3 separate regions of the Homo sapiens genome follow, and all the other regions are linked to region 2. The links are contacts of gene promoters, found by promoter capture Hi-C in human tissues and cell types (Jung and others, 2019). All regions are on one chromosome and are shown on one strand. The core of a region is centred on a gene start or on the middle of the fragment in contact, and the rest is flanking DNA. Distances in the headings are between cores, read along the strand shown.

Region 1 (4,181 bases), core at 354-2,853, 100 kb before region 2:
AGCAGACCTGCTGCACGCATGTGGCGGGGGAAAGAAAGAAAGCCAGCTGTCTGCAGCCACTGAGAGTTTGGGGTGGTTGTTTCTCATGACAAAACCAGCTCACCCTGACTTATACAAAGTCTTTGAGTTATATAGATGGAGAATGAGGCTCTTGGGTCCCTCTATTCTCACAAAGCAATAGCCTAGCTAAATCCATCTAACTAGGGAGCAGAAAAGGGGATGTGCTGGCTTGCACACCCTAGACAGTTGTTCAAGAAGTCAGGACACCAGGCCTGGAGTGATACTTCAGCCATCCTTCTAGGTGAGGGTCTTGAGGCCACACAGACAGAAGTGGCAGAGATGGGACACACATTCGTCTTCTCACTCACAGTCTGGCACTGAGCTGTGGGCTGCTGGGACACCATGCCCCCATACGAGTAGCCTTCCCACTCCTTACCTTGAAGGAAAAGTGTTTTTTGGACAAATACCTGATGGAAACATTACATGGGCCTTGGAATCTGTTAGATCTAGCTTCCTGAAACTCTTGCTAGCTGTGTGACAATATACAAGTTTCTTAACCTCTCTGAGCCTCAGTGCTCTAATTACACTCCCCTCATAGAGTTTCTAAGAGCATCCTGGGGCTGGCACGTGTCAACGCACCCAGTATTTGATAGAGTTTGTTAAACGTTGGTTATCCTCTCTCCCTATCGCACCTCAAATGGTAAGGGCTGCCTGCCAGCTTCCATATCCCCAGCAGTGCCCTGAGTTGTTCAGATGTTCATCCATCTCCCACAGAACTCAGGTTCCTTTGGAGGAAGCCACATCAAGTCCTGCTCCAAGCTTAAGCCAGTCAGCACATTCCATGCTCTGCCCCATTGCCAGGGTTCAGGAGTATGCTCGTGATCTAAGCACCCCCACTCCCAGATACAGCTCAAGATTCTTGCTTGGACTTCTGGGCACTCAGGCTCCTCCGAGAGGGAATCAAACTTACTTCTCTCCATGTCCTTTCCTCTAGGAGATGCGTCTTTCATAAAACTCTCATCAACACTGTTCAGACATGTCCCACCCCAGCAGGGGACAGCCTGGGCTCAAGCTGGGATCCCTACTTTATTTATTTTCTGCTAATTAAACTTCCTAATATACTCCACACTAAGTGTGCTTGCAAGGCAGGGGGTGTGGGATAAGCGGCCCTGCCTGGCTGGGAGAGGGGGCAGCTCCCTGCTGTACTATGTATTAATAAAGAGACACATGCATGGCAGGGCTTGTCTGGGCCTTGGTGGCAGCTTAGGACAGAAGGCACGTGACAGTCAGGGGTTCAAACAACCCAGGGAGAACACTGCTTCAGGGAAGACAGCTCAGCATCTTCCTGGCAAAGATAATGACATTGATAATACTCTCCAAAGAATTTCAGGATTTTGAGCAATCAGAAAAGCAACACAGAAATTCATGTCATCAAAACGATATGGCTCTATTGGACACTTAAGACATTTATTGGAGGCTCAACAACATAATCCTGCTGGTTGGTTTTACTTCATTGATTTTCCGTTGTGTCTGATTACATTGCTAATGCTGATGGTGGATGAGCTACGGCTCTTTTCCTGCCTGTCCTGAGGTTTATCCACCAATGTTTCAGTTCTGTTTTAAGATATTGTCCTAAGCCCCCAGCATCGCATGCATGCTGTTTTTTTGTTTTGTTTTGTTTTGTTTTTTACAAAGAGTTCATAGCCCGTGGAAGACTCTCCTCCATCACACACTTAGGTTCCCTCCACACCAGGCCTGGAAGGAGTCTAGCTTCTGGGGACTGTACATATGCTGTGGACCATGCAGAACCTGGAGAGGCGGTGACCCCTTCTAGAAGTGATCTGCCTGAATCCTTCCCTCTGGAGGAGGCATTTATTAAATGCCAGGTTCCTGAAAGGCTCTGAGATGGGCACTCCCTCTCCTGAGTCGTCCCTTCCATTACTGCTTTCCTATTTCTGGCCAGGGTTCCCTGGCCCCTCCTCCCTGCTCCCATGGGACCCCAGTTCATCCCCATCTTTGCTCAATTGCCCTGCACTGTAGTAATCCATTGGCACTCTTGTCTTCTCCAGGAGAAATAGTTGGAGGAGAAGTTTATAGGGTTTCCTGGGCCAGGGCTGGTCTACAGTCACTGGACAGCAGGAAACGACCCTTCGGGGCCTAGGAGGGCCAAGGCTGGTGGGCAGGTACAGGGGGAGCCAGCACTGCTGTCCACCACTGTGCAGCCTGGAGGCTGTTTCCCATGACCCTGCTGATGGGACCCAAGGCACCCCAGGCCACCCACTCCCCTGCCCCCAGCAGGGTGTCAGCTCCCCGGCTTCCCTGCATGCCTGCCTGACATGGACAGTGCACCTTCGGGCCACACTTGCCCTGCTAGCGAGCCTCCAGTGAACTGGGAATTCCACAGAGTGTAGAGGACTCGCCCCAGCACTGTGCTGAGAGGCTTCACCAAACTGTAGCCTGGCTTCCACCTGCACTAAGCTGCATCCCCAGAGGCGACCCCAGCCCTGGCTGAGTCTTGGCTCAAGACTTTGCAATGCAGCCAAATCACAAAATGCACCTCGTCCAGCCCACCCCGCTAAACCATTTTCAGTAGTTCTCCCCTCACCGTTCTGGAACTTTCCATTTCCACGTGGCCCCCACGTTCTGTTTTCATTTCTCCTTCAGTCCCTTTTTGTTCCCTTTCTGTTCTCTCTTTGAAGACCTCAGTCACCGTTTTCTGAGTTGGGGTTGAGCTTGGTCGGTACTGGAATCTCTTTCCGCTGCTGCAGGAGTCTGAAGGAATCAGTCTTGCCGCCTGTAACACATGTCCAGCGCTGCTTTTTCTCTGATGAGTGTCTTAGTCAGTTTGGGCTGTTAAAACAAATGGCTTAGGCAACACACGTTTCTGTCTCACAGTTCTGGAAGCTGGAAGTCTGAGATCAAGGTGTTGGCAGATTCGGTACCCGGTGAGGACCTGCTTCCTGGTTCGCGGGTAGAACACTTCTTGCTGTGTCCTCACAAGGTGCAGAGAGAGAGGGGGGTCTGGTGTCTCTTCCTGTAAGGGCACTGATCCCATCATGGGGGCCTTACAATCGCGACCTCATCTAAACCTCCCGAAACCTCATCTAAATCTCACCTCCATACTATCACATTGGGGATTAAGGCTTTAACATGTGGATTTCAGGGGACAAAGGACAAAAGCATTCAGTCCATGGCACATGCTCAGTGCCTCGACTCTTGCAAGTGCCACACCACAGCCTCTCTGGGGCTGTGTCCTGGAGGCGTGTGCCATGGGCCCTGTGTGCCATGGGCAAGGCGCACAGCATCCTCCCGGCCACCCCACCAGCGAGTGAGCTCCTGGCACCCTGGCTCTCTCTGGTCACCCATCTACCAGTCTTGGTGCTCCTGTGCACTAGAGGACCAGCTGCCTGGGGACTGTGGGCCAACTGTGGCCCCGGCCACCCACGAACTTCCCCTCCGGCCAGTGGCTGCAATCACATCTTCTCTAAAGACGTCTGAAGCCCAGCCTTGGGGAGCCGAGTTGGTCCTTCCCTGGGTACTGAGCCCTAGGGAACCCTTGAGAGTTCTCTTTGTATCTTTGTAGTTTCTTCCTCACCACTTAATCATTTCCTTACAGGAAACTTCCTGTGTTCAAGTGACTGTATGGTTTCTGCCTCCAGCTTCATTTGTGGGTGCCATAAGAGAGGCAAGCATGGAGCACTAGGCGCAGGGGATGGGCAACTGGCAAGCGGGGAGATGCATGCAGCGCACTTAGTGCCTGGTACATACCAAGTCCTTTTAGTCTGGATTTCATTATTTTTAAATGGGTATTGCTATTTTTAAAAGAATAGTTACAAATATTTATTGTGTGTTTTGAAATAAGTGGGTCAAGATCAATAAGATATTGTTGATCAATTGATCAATAAGATATCTTTTATTCTTAAAAATCATATTCTTCTGGTTCAGTGGGGAAGAGACTGCCGACCTGTATTTACAGCATTATGTGATAAGTGTTCTCCTTTTCAGGTATGTATTAGTCTGTTCTCATGCTGTCAATAAAGACATACCTGAGACTGGGTAATTTATAAAGGAAAGATGCTTAATTGACTCACAATTCCTCATGGCTGAGGAGGCCTCAGGAAACTTACAATCATGGCAGAAAAGGAAGCAAGCATATCCTTCTTCGCATGATGGCAGGAAGG
Region 2 (4,148 bases), core at 1,071-3,570:
TTTTCTGATCCTCTTTCTCCTCCCACCCTCCACTCTCAAGTAGCCACTGTGTCTGTCAATCATCCTTCTTGATAAACTCAAAGTCAAACGAGTCCAGATCTTACCTACATCTGCAAAATCAATTTTTCCTATAAAGGAACGTAATCACAGAAGCACTGTCCCACAGTAGTACGAGTGCTGAGCCGTTGTAGGCAGAGAGGGTTGTCCTGCCCACACTCAAGGGGAGAGAGTGCAGGGCCAGTTCACCCCTCACGCGGAAGTGGCAGTGCTGGGGGCTCACTTCGTGCTCTGCTCACCACAACTCCAAACTCACAACTTTATTCCCACCAATCCCATCCCCTCCAGTCCAGGGGGCACACACTCCAGCAGGACTTCAGCTGAGCCCAGGGAACGCTTTGCTGACTGGTGATGAGGGACCTACCTCTTCACACCCATGACACCCACCCGCTGAGCCCCTCACCGGGGCTCCGAAGGCCCTGGTCAGGTCACCTCTGGTCTCACTTTCCATTCTCCCCTCCTTCCTCCCCTCCAGCCACAGGGTCCTTCTCGATGTGCCCAGACATGGTGGGTGCACACTTGTCTGACAGCCTCTCTTCTTTTCCCTTTGCTTGGAATGCTCTCTTCCCAGTTACCAAAGATACTCAGGCTCTCTCCCCAATTTCCTTCAGGCCCTTGCTCCAAAAGCTCCTTCCGGGTGAAGCCTCCCCTCCCATCCTCCTTAAAGCTTCAGCCTCTACCTGGGACACTTCCTCCCCCACTGCCTGCCTCCTTGAAACTCTCCTTAGTCCTCTTGCAGCCCACACAGCTGAACACAGGCAGGAGGGGGCGCTGCTGCCCTGGCTGGTGTGCAGCCACCAGAGGCTGAAGCTCACTGACGTCTGTCTGGGGCCCAGGATCACCTTCCTTGATTCCAGCTCTCTCAGGCTGTCAGGACCTGGCGCTGGGAGGCACTAGGCCATGCCCTGGCCTGAGGCCTTCTCTCTCCCTCTTTGCCCTGTGTCTCTGCAGGGAAGCCCGGCCCTGCCCCTGGGAGGGTGGGGGCAGACGTGTGGAGAGTGGGTGTACAAGGCCAGGGTTTGCCAGGCCCAGGACAGCCTGGCACCTGTCAATGGATGAGCGCCTCTCCCTTAGCCTGATGTCAGGGTGGGCATGAGGGTGGGAGCAGAGGGTGCCTAACTGAGGAAAGGGTCTGTGCAACCCCCTTCTCCTACCAGTTCTCGTTTCTGAAGTCTCCTCAAGCACACTGCGGTGTCCACACCATTGGCAGCAGGCTCCTTCTCTTCAGGTGGTCTTAGGAACTTCTCAGAACTTTTTGAGTTATCCTTCTGGTCTCTTCCTCCTGAGCACGGTTCTCCTGGTTGAGCTCCAGGCCATGCCATTCAACGCCCTCCAGGACAGGCCGAAGGGCTTGTCTGTTTGGTGGTTGCTAAGGTTTGAAAAAAGCCAGCTGGAAACTTAATCCCCAAAGCAACAGTGTTGGGAGGTGGGACCTAATGGGAGGTGTTTAGTCATGAGGGCTCCACCCTTATGAATGGATTCTCTCTCTCTTGTTCTCTCTCTCTCTCTTCCCGCCCCGCCCACCCCTCCTTCCCCAACCTTGTGATACCTTCCACCATGTCATGGCAAGAAGGCCCTTGCCAGATGTGGCCCCTCCATCCTGGGTTCCCAGTCTCCAGAACCATGAGCCAAATGCATTTCTGTCTGTTACAAATTATGTACGGTGTGGTTTTCTGTGATGAACACAGTGCTGTACCAGGGCCCTCTTGCCAAGACAGCCAGCTTATAGGAGCCTGCATGTGAGGCCCGGACGTCCTACAGAGCAGCAGTTAGAGGTCTGGCCTTCTGGATAGGCACTGCCCTGCCCTGCACACAGGACCTTGGTGGGGCATGATGGGGCTCTTCACCACGCTGCCCTCATTTTAGGAGGTGGGCAACCCTTTCTCCCCCTTCTCCATGTGCTTCTGCAGTTGGAAGAAGTGAGGGGGGTTCAGACACACTTAAGCTGAGCTTAGAGCAAAGCATGTCCCTCAAGGTGACCTTGCCGCATGGCCTGAACCTAGAATTCCCCTGACCAGGGTGGACAGCCATCACCATGGGCCTTTCTGCCTGGCCTAGTATGGCTCTCCTTCGAACTCACCTAGACCCTTGCATCAAAGGACTCGGGGACTCTGCTGCAGTCATCCTAGCACGGTCGAGAGGAGTAGGAAGGTGCCCAGCGGCTCAGCCTTTAAGGAGGTCTATTGGTCACCATTGCTTCTGCCTTCTTGAGAACCATCACCCTCGGAGGATCCGGTAGTGTATCCCAGTCAAGTGTCAAATGCGTTGTTCCCTGGAGAGGAAGGCTTATTTCCAGAAAGTACTCTGACGTTTTGTAATTTGTGATTTCTATCACTGGCTCAGTGGCCTACCCACTGCTCAGCTCATGTGGCATGACCAGGCTGGGGCGTCGGGTCATCTTGTTCTCTGGGTGTGTGGCAACACTGGTTTATGGCGTAATTTCCTTCCTGAGAAGAAATTCAGTAATTTCTAATATTCAGGGCTTTAGGTAGAGGCCTGAAAATCACTCTCCATGCCTCTTTCAGTATTTTATATATAGTTGTCTCTTGGTATCCATGGGGTTTGGTTCCAGAATCCCCTGCAGATACCAAAATTTGCGAATGTTCAAGTCCTTTATATATAGTGGCATAGTATTTGCATATAACCTATGCATATCAGCCAATCATAGATGGTGATTTAAATCATCTCTTGATTACTTCTAACACCTAATACTATGTAAATGCTTTGTAAGTAGTTGTTACCTGGCATTTTTTTATTTGTTTTATTTTTGTTGTTGTTTCATTAATTTTATTTTATTTTTGGAATATTTTCAGTCCATTGTTGGTTGAATCCACAGATGCAGAAGCCTTAGACACAGAGGGCCGACCACACCTATGTATGCTGTTCTTAAAGTAGCAACATATTTGTTCTGAACATAGAAGAAATTAGTCGTCTATTAGACTTTAAGGGAGTAAATATGGTCCAAGTTGATTTTTAAATTTAGCAAATAGTCATAGACATATCAGTGTCTTACAGAAAATATTTATTGGAATGCTCACTCTCTCATTTGGGATACTGCTTTGCCTTGCTGTGTCTTAAGAATGTCATCAGAGCATCACACACTTGAAAAACGTTTTTAAAAGGATATGATGATAATTAAGACCTTCTCCCCAACCCCTGCCCATTATCCAAGATCAATGTTTTTTTCCTTTATCCTGATTTTAAAATCAAGTACACTTTATTGAGGCATACTTTACATGAAGCAAAATGTACCCTTTCTAAATATGATAAGTTTGATGAGTTTTCAACAGATGTATACAGCTGTTACCATGACTGTGTCTTTACCCAGGTTCTTGCATTGCTCAATCCAGATACAGAATGTCTCCATCACCCTGACAAGTTCCTTTGTGCCGCACCCTCTAGCCAATCATCTGTTTTGAGGAGAGTTTTAAAACAAAGGTTTTTGTTCTTTTTCACTGATGACCATAACCTACCACAGACAGGGTCTCTCTCTCTCTCTCTCTCTCTTTTTCCCTGTTCTTGCGCCAGCTGCCTGACAATTTGTGGGATTAAAGCTCTAAGCTGCTTACTGGCTCTTCTGACTAGGGAGAGGGAGCAAGCCTCATTATTTTTCTATTCTTTTCAGTGACTGCTCACTCCTCTTCCTCCAAAATCCCTATCCATCCATCCATCCATCCATCCATCCATCCATCCATCCATCCATCCAACTTTCCATCTACCCATCTATCCTTCCATCTATCCAATCCACTTGCGTGTTGAACGTCTACTATGAGCCATTGGCTACCAGGAATCCCACTTCCACCCAAATTATGTTTCAACAGGGAAGACAAACAATTTAACAATTACGATAAAAAAGAAAATATGCCATACAATGGAAAAGAAGGGGGCATGATGGGAGACCCAGCGGGAGTAGCTGGCAACGATTCTTAGGGGGAAGAGACATTCCTAATAGACACCTGCAGGAGAAATATTAAAGAGTCAATCATTTCAGTAGCGCTTATTGTGACCAATAATGCAAGAAGTTTCTGGGTTCCCAGGCTGATGGGTTTGAAAGTCACTGCATCATGAATGTGCCCAGGACCCACACGTTG
Region 3 (4,416 bases), core at 645-3,144, 71 kb before region 2:
TCTTCTGGCTTCTCAGCTTGCAGACAGCCTATTGTGGGACCTTATGATTGTGTGAGTTAATACTTAATAAACTCCTGTTTATATTATGTGTGTGTGTGTGTATATATATGTGTGTGTGTGTGTGTGTGTATACACACATATACTGGAATATATGTATATACATATATACATATATACACATACATATATATACACATATACATATATACACATATATATACACATATACATATATACATATATACACGTATACATATATACATATATACACATATACATAAATACATATATACACATATATATACATATACTATATATATACATATACATATATTCATTCCATTAGTTCTGTCCCTCTAGAGAACCCTGATGAATACAGTGGGCTACACACCTATTGGAATGGCCAAAACCCAGAACACTGACAACACCAAATGCTGGTAAGGATGTGGCGTTTTTTATCCGCATTCATTGCTGATGGTAATGCAAAATAGTGCAGCCAGTTTGGAACACAGTTTGGCAGCTCTTTACAAAACGGCGTGTACTCTTACCATACGATCCAGAAACTGTATTCCTAGGTATCTACCCAAAGGAGTTGAAAACTTGTAACCACACAAAAACTTGCACACAGATGCTCATAGCAAGCTTTATTTATTATTGCCCAAACTTGGAAGCAAACAAGATGTCCATCAGTAGGTGAATGGATAAATAAACTGTGGTGTATCCACACAGTAGAATATTATTCAGTGCTAAAAAGAAATGAGCTATCAAGACATGAAAAGACATGGAGGAAACTGAAATGCATATGACTGAGTGAAAGAAGCCCTTATGAAAAGCTACATACTGTATGACTCTAACTATGTGACATTCTGAAAAAGGCAAAACTATGGTGAAAACATCAGTGGTTGCCAGCAGTTGAGACGGGTGGGGGGAAGATAACCAGGTAGAGCATAGAGGACTTTAAGGGCAGCGAAAATGCTCTGTATATTACTACGATGGTGGATACATGTCATTATACAGCAGGTCCTTGGATGACACTATCTCATTCAACATCATTTTGCTATAAAGTTGATGAGAAAAAAAAGTCAATTCCTAGCCAGGCCACTGTCTCTGTGGAGGGTGTGCGTTCTCCCCATGTCTGTGTGGGTTTCCTCTGGGTCCTCCAGTTTCCTCCCACATCCCAAAGCTATGCACGGTAGGTGAACTGGCATGTCTACATGGTCCCAGTGTGAGCGAGTGTGGAAGTGGGTGAGTGTGCCCTATGATGGAAGAGGACCCTGTCCAGGGTTGGTGTCTGCCTTGACCCTGTGCCTCTGGGATGGGCTCTGCCATCCACAGCTCTGAAGTGGAATAAGCCAGTCAATAATATTCTCGCTTGTTTTTTGTTGTTGTTGTTGTTTGTTTGTTTTTGTGACAGAGTCTCACTCTGTTGCCCAGGCTAAAGTGCAGTGGCACTAACTCGGCTCACTGCAACCTCCACCTCCAGGGTTCAAGTGATTCCTGTGTCTCAGCCTACTGAGTAGCTGGGACTACAGGCATGCGCCACCATGCCCAGCTAATTTTTGTATTTTTAGTAGAATCAGGATTTTGCCACGTTGGCCAGGCTGGTCTTGAACTCTTGACCTCAGGTGATCTGCCTGCCTCAGCCTCCCAAAGTGCTGGGATTACAGGCGTGAGCCACCGTGCTCAGCTTTCACTTGTTTGTATTAATCTTTCCTAAATGTATGTATGGCTCACATTTATTTCAATGTTTAGTATTAGAAGTGTTTGAGGTCTTTGTAAGTTTGGTGATGTTTTGTGACCAGAAACAGGCCATAGGAACTTAACTCTTGTTTATATTAATTAGCTTATGGTAAAATTGGATAAATGTTTTATAAGAGACATGAAAGGGCATACAGACACACAGGAGAGAAGGCCACGTGAAGATGGAGGTGGAGGAGACAGTGATGCAGCCACAAGCCAAGGGATGCAAGCGGCCACCTGCAGTTGAGAGAGGCAGGAAGGATCCTCAGAAGGCATGGAGCCTACGAGGAAGCCTGGCCCTGCTGGTACCTTAATTTTGGACTTCCAGCCTCCAGAACCATGAGAGATTACATTTCTGTTGTTTGAAGCCACTGATTTTTGTGGTCATTGGTTATGGCAGCCACAGGAAATAAGATAATCACCCACTTAATTTTCCTAGAAAAGCTGTGTTTTGAAAGTCCTCTTGAAGCCTGGGTTCCTCTCTCTGCATCTCCCAGTTTTCCCTCAAAGCTTGTGGATTCTCCATTCCTCACATTAACTCAGGCCTTTCATTGCCAAGTGACCCCGAGTCCTGCCTTCGCGGGTGCTGGGGGAGCCTTCCTGACCCACTGGAAGTGGACCTGCCCATCTCCTTGCTGTGAAACTGCATGAGGGGGCTTGTGTCTGAGGATTGTCTGGCGTGAGGGGAGAGACACCACGTGGGGACAGAGGAGTGGATGAGCAGGCCGGGGCATGACGGGGCCGTGACAGGGACCTGGCCTTCCATTCTGTGGAAGCCTGAGACAAGCAGCAACTTCTCTCATTCCTCCTCTCTATGACAAGACAGGAACTGGGACACTCACCTTACTACCCTAATTCGCTGAGCCTCGGAAGAAAAGCAGCTTAGATTTTTAATCCCATCCAAGATGGAGGCCCTCCTGCTCCTGCTGCCTTGTTCTCACCCCCTTTCGTGATGTGCGAGGCCATCGGAAGGTGTGGAATTTCTCCACTGATTCCTCTCATTGTCCCTTTCTCCCTACTCCTGGGGAGGCTGCAATGGTGACCTCATCCACCTTCAGAGGCAGGTGCTGGAGGAGGAAAGGATGTGGGAGTTCAAGCCGGCTGCAGAGGCCCAAGAGCCCAGATGGTGTCCTTCCAGCAAACTGGAGAGGCACTCCTCCTACCAGGCAGCCACTGCCCCACTCCAGGGCCCCTGGCTCAGCTAGGGAAGTGGGGCTGGGTTTCACCCCCTGCTCATCCCCTAAGGCCCAGTGCTGGACTCAGTGCAGCACCTGCCCAGCCATCTCTAGCAGCGGCATAAAGCATAAAATCAAGGCCAATGTTACGTGCTGCCTTGACATGTGGTAAAATGTGAAGGGCCTCAAGTGGCCTAAATGCAAGCTCCTGTCCCACCTCTGCTCCCATAAATAGGGTCTCCCAGCTGGGCAACCCTTCTCATCCCAGGGACCAGGTACCACCCCTGTTTGTTGCCAAGTAGCAGGCTTCAGTTCCCTGCCAGTCTGCGGAATTATTTAACAACCTCATGAAGAAACCAGGGGCCACTCCACCCTCTGTATTAGCCTGTTCTCAGGCAGCTAATAAAGATACCCAAGACTGGGTAATTTATAAAGAAAAGAAGTTTAATTGACTCACAGTTCCACATGGCTTGGGAGGCCTCAGAAAACCTACAATCATGGTAGAAGGGGAGGCAAACATGTCCTCCTTCACGTGGCAGCAGGAAGGAGAAGTGCTGAGCAAAAGGGGGAAAAGTCCCTTATAAATCCATCAGATCTCATGAGAATTCACTCACTGTCATGAGAACAGCATGGAGGTAACCCCCACATGATTCAATCACCTCCCACTGGGTCCCTCCCACGACATGTGGGGATTATGGGAATTACAATTCAAGATGAGATGTGGAAGGGGTCACGGCCAAACCATATCACTCTTGTTACTACCAAACCTGCTGTCCAACAACCCTGCTGTTCACTCTGCTCTTGAGCACCACCTCATGTGGCCCTGCATAGCCTGCAGTGGCCCTTCCCCTGGGCTACGAGTATATGTGACTAGAAAATTGCCGTGGGTCTCACCTATCCAGTGTTGGGTGTTGTGTGTCCAGCCCTAGAGTGGGACTCCTTCCCTCACGAATGGGGTGAATAGAAGGTGATAAAAAGATCTGAGTCTAGGGATACCTAGGAGGTGGAATCTCTTCTCCATGCATAGCATGAGTGATCACAGGCCTGAAACCAAAAGGGACTTAGGTCTGGGGGAGAGATTATTTTCCAGGTGCTGAATATTCCTGGGATAGGGGAGGGAGCTAAACAGGTTCCTGCCCAAAGGAAGTGAGAAGGGGGTCCTAGCAACTTCTCAGGGATTTAGAGCTGTGACTCCAGGGCCTTTGTTCAGAGGAGCTACCTTGCAAGGAACTTCTAGAAGAATGCTTCTCTTTCTCAGCATCCATCCTCCCATTTCATAGTCGTGCCCACGATGGGCCCCGTCTCCCTGAACTTGATGGCTGAATAGAAGTGTAGCCTCCCAGGGGCATCTAAAGGCACTCAGAGCCCCTTACCCAGCCCCAGCAGGCACCTGCCTGGCTGCCCGGTCCTCAGGGTTCCCTGTGCATTGAGCAATATCCTCAAAGTGACCACCAGGGGGCAGCAGCACCCAGACTGCCTTCCACTGCACCTGCAGATCAAC

What was found. Contacts are between HindIII fragments. The study calls those that stand out against the background at their distance.
Region 1: a fragment that was not itself captured here is called in contact with the fragment with the promoter of KCNE1 in region 2 in 5 of the 25 tissues and cell types used here (dorsolateral prefrontal cortex, heart right ventricle, lymphoblastoid cells and 2 more).
Region 3: a fragment that was not itself captured here is called in contact with the fragment with the promoter of KCNE1 in region 2 in 8 of the 25 tissues and cell types used here (IMR-90 fibroblasts, adrenal gland, aorta and 5 more).

What each region holds. Positions count from the first base shown.
Region 1 is chr21:34,408,515-34,412,695 of GRCh38, forward strand. The region is part of intron 3 of LOC105372793 (salivary glue protein Sgs-3); the gene reads left to right. Among named protein-coding and RNA genes, the nearest start is that of C21orf140, 9.5 kb to the left of the region's middle. The HindIII fragment of the contact is 5,549 bases long and covers 1-4,181 here.
Region 2 is chr21:34,509,890-34,514,037 of GRCh38, forward strand. It overlaps KCNE1 (potassium voltage-gated channel subfamily E regulatory subunit 1), which reads right to left and starts at 2,321. Exons shown (of 4, transcript NM_000219.6): 1 at 2,138-2,321; 2 at 1,212-1,426. The HindIII fragment of the contact is 8,709 bases long and covers 1-4,148 here.
Region 3 is chr21:34,439,346-34,443,761 of GRCh38, forward strand. No RefSeq gene overlaps it. Among named protein-coding and RNA genes, the nearest start is that of SMIM34, 18 kb to the left of the region's middle. The HindIII fragment of the contact is 5,928 bases long and covers 1-4,416 here.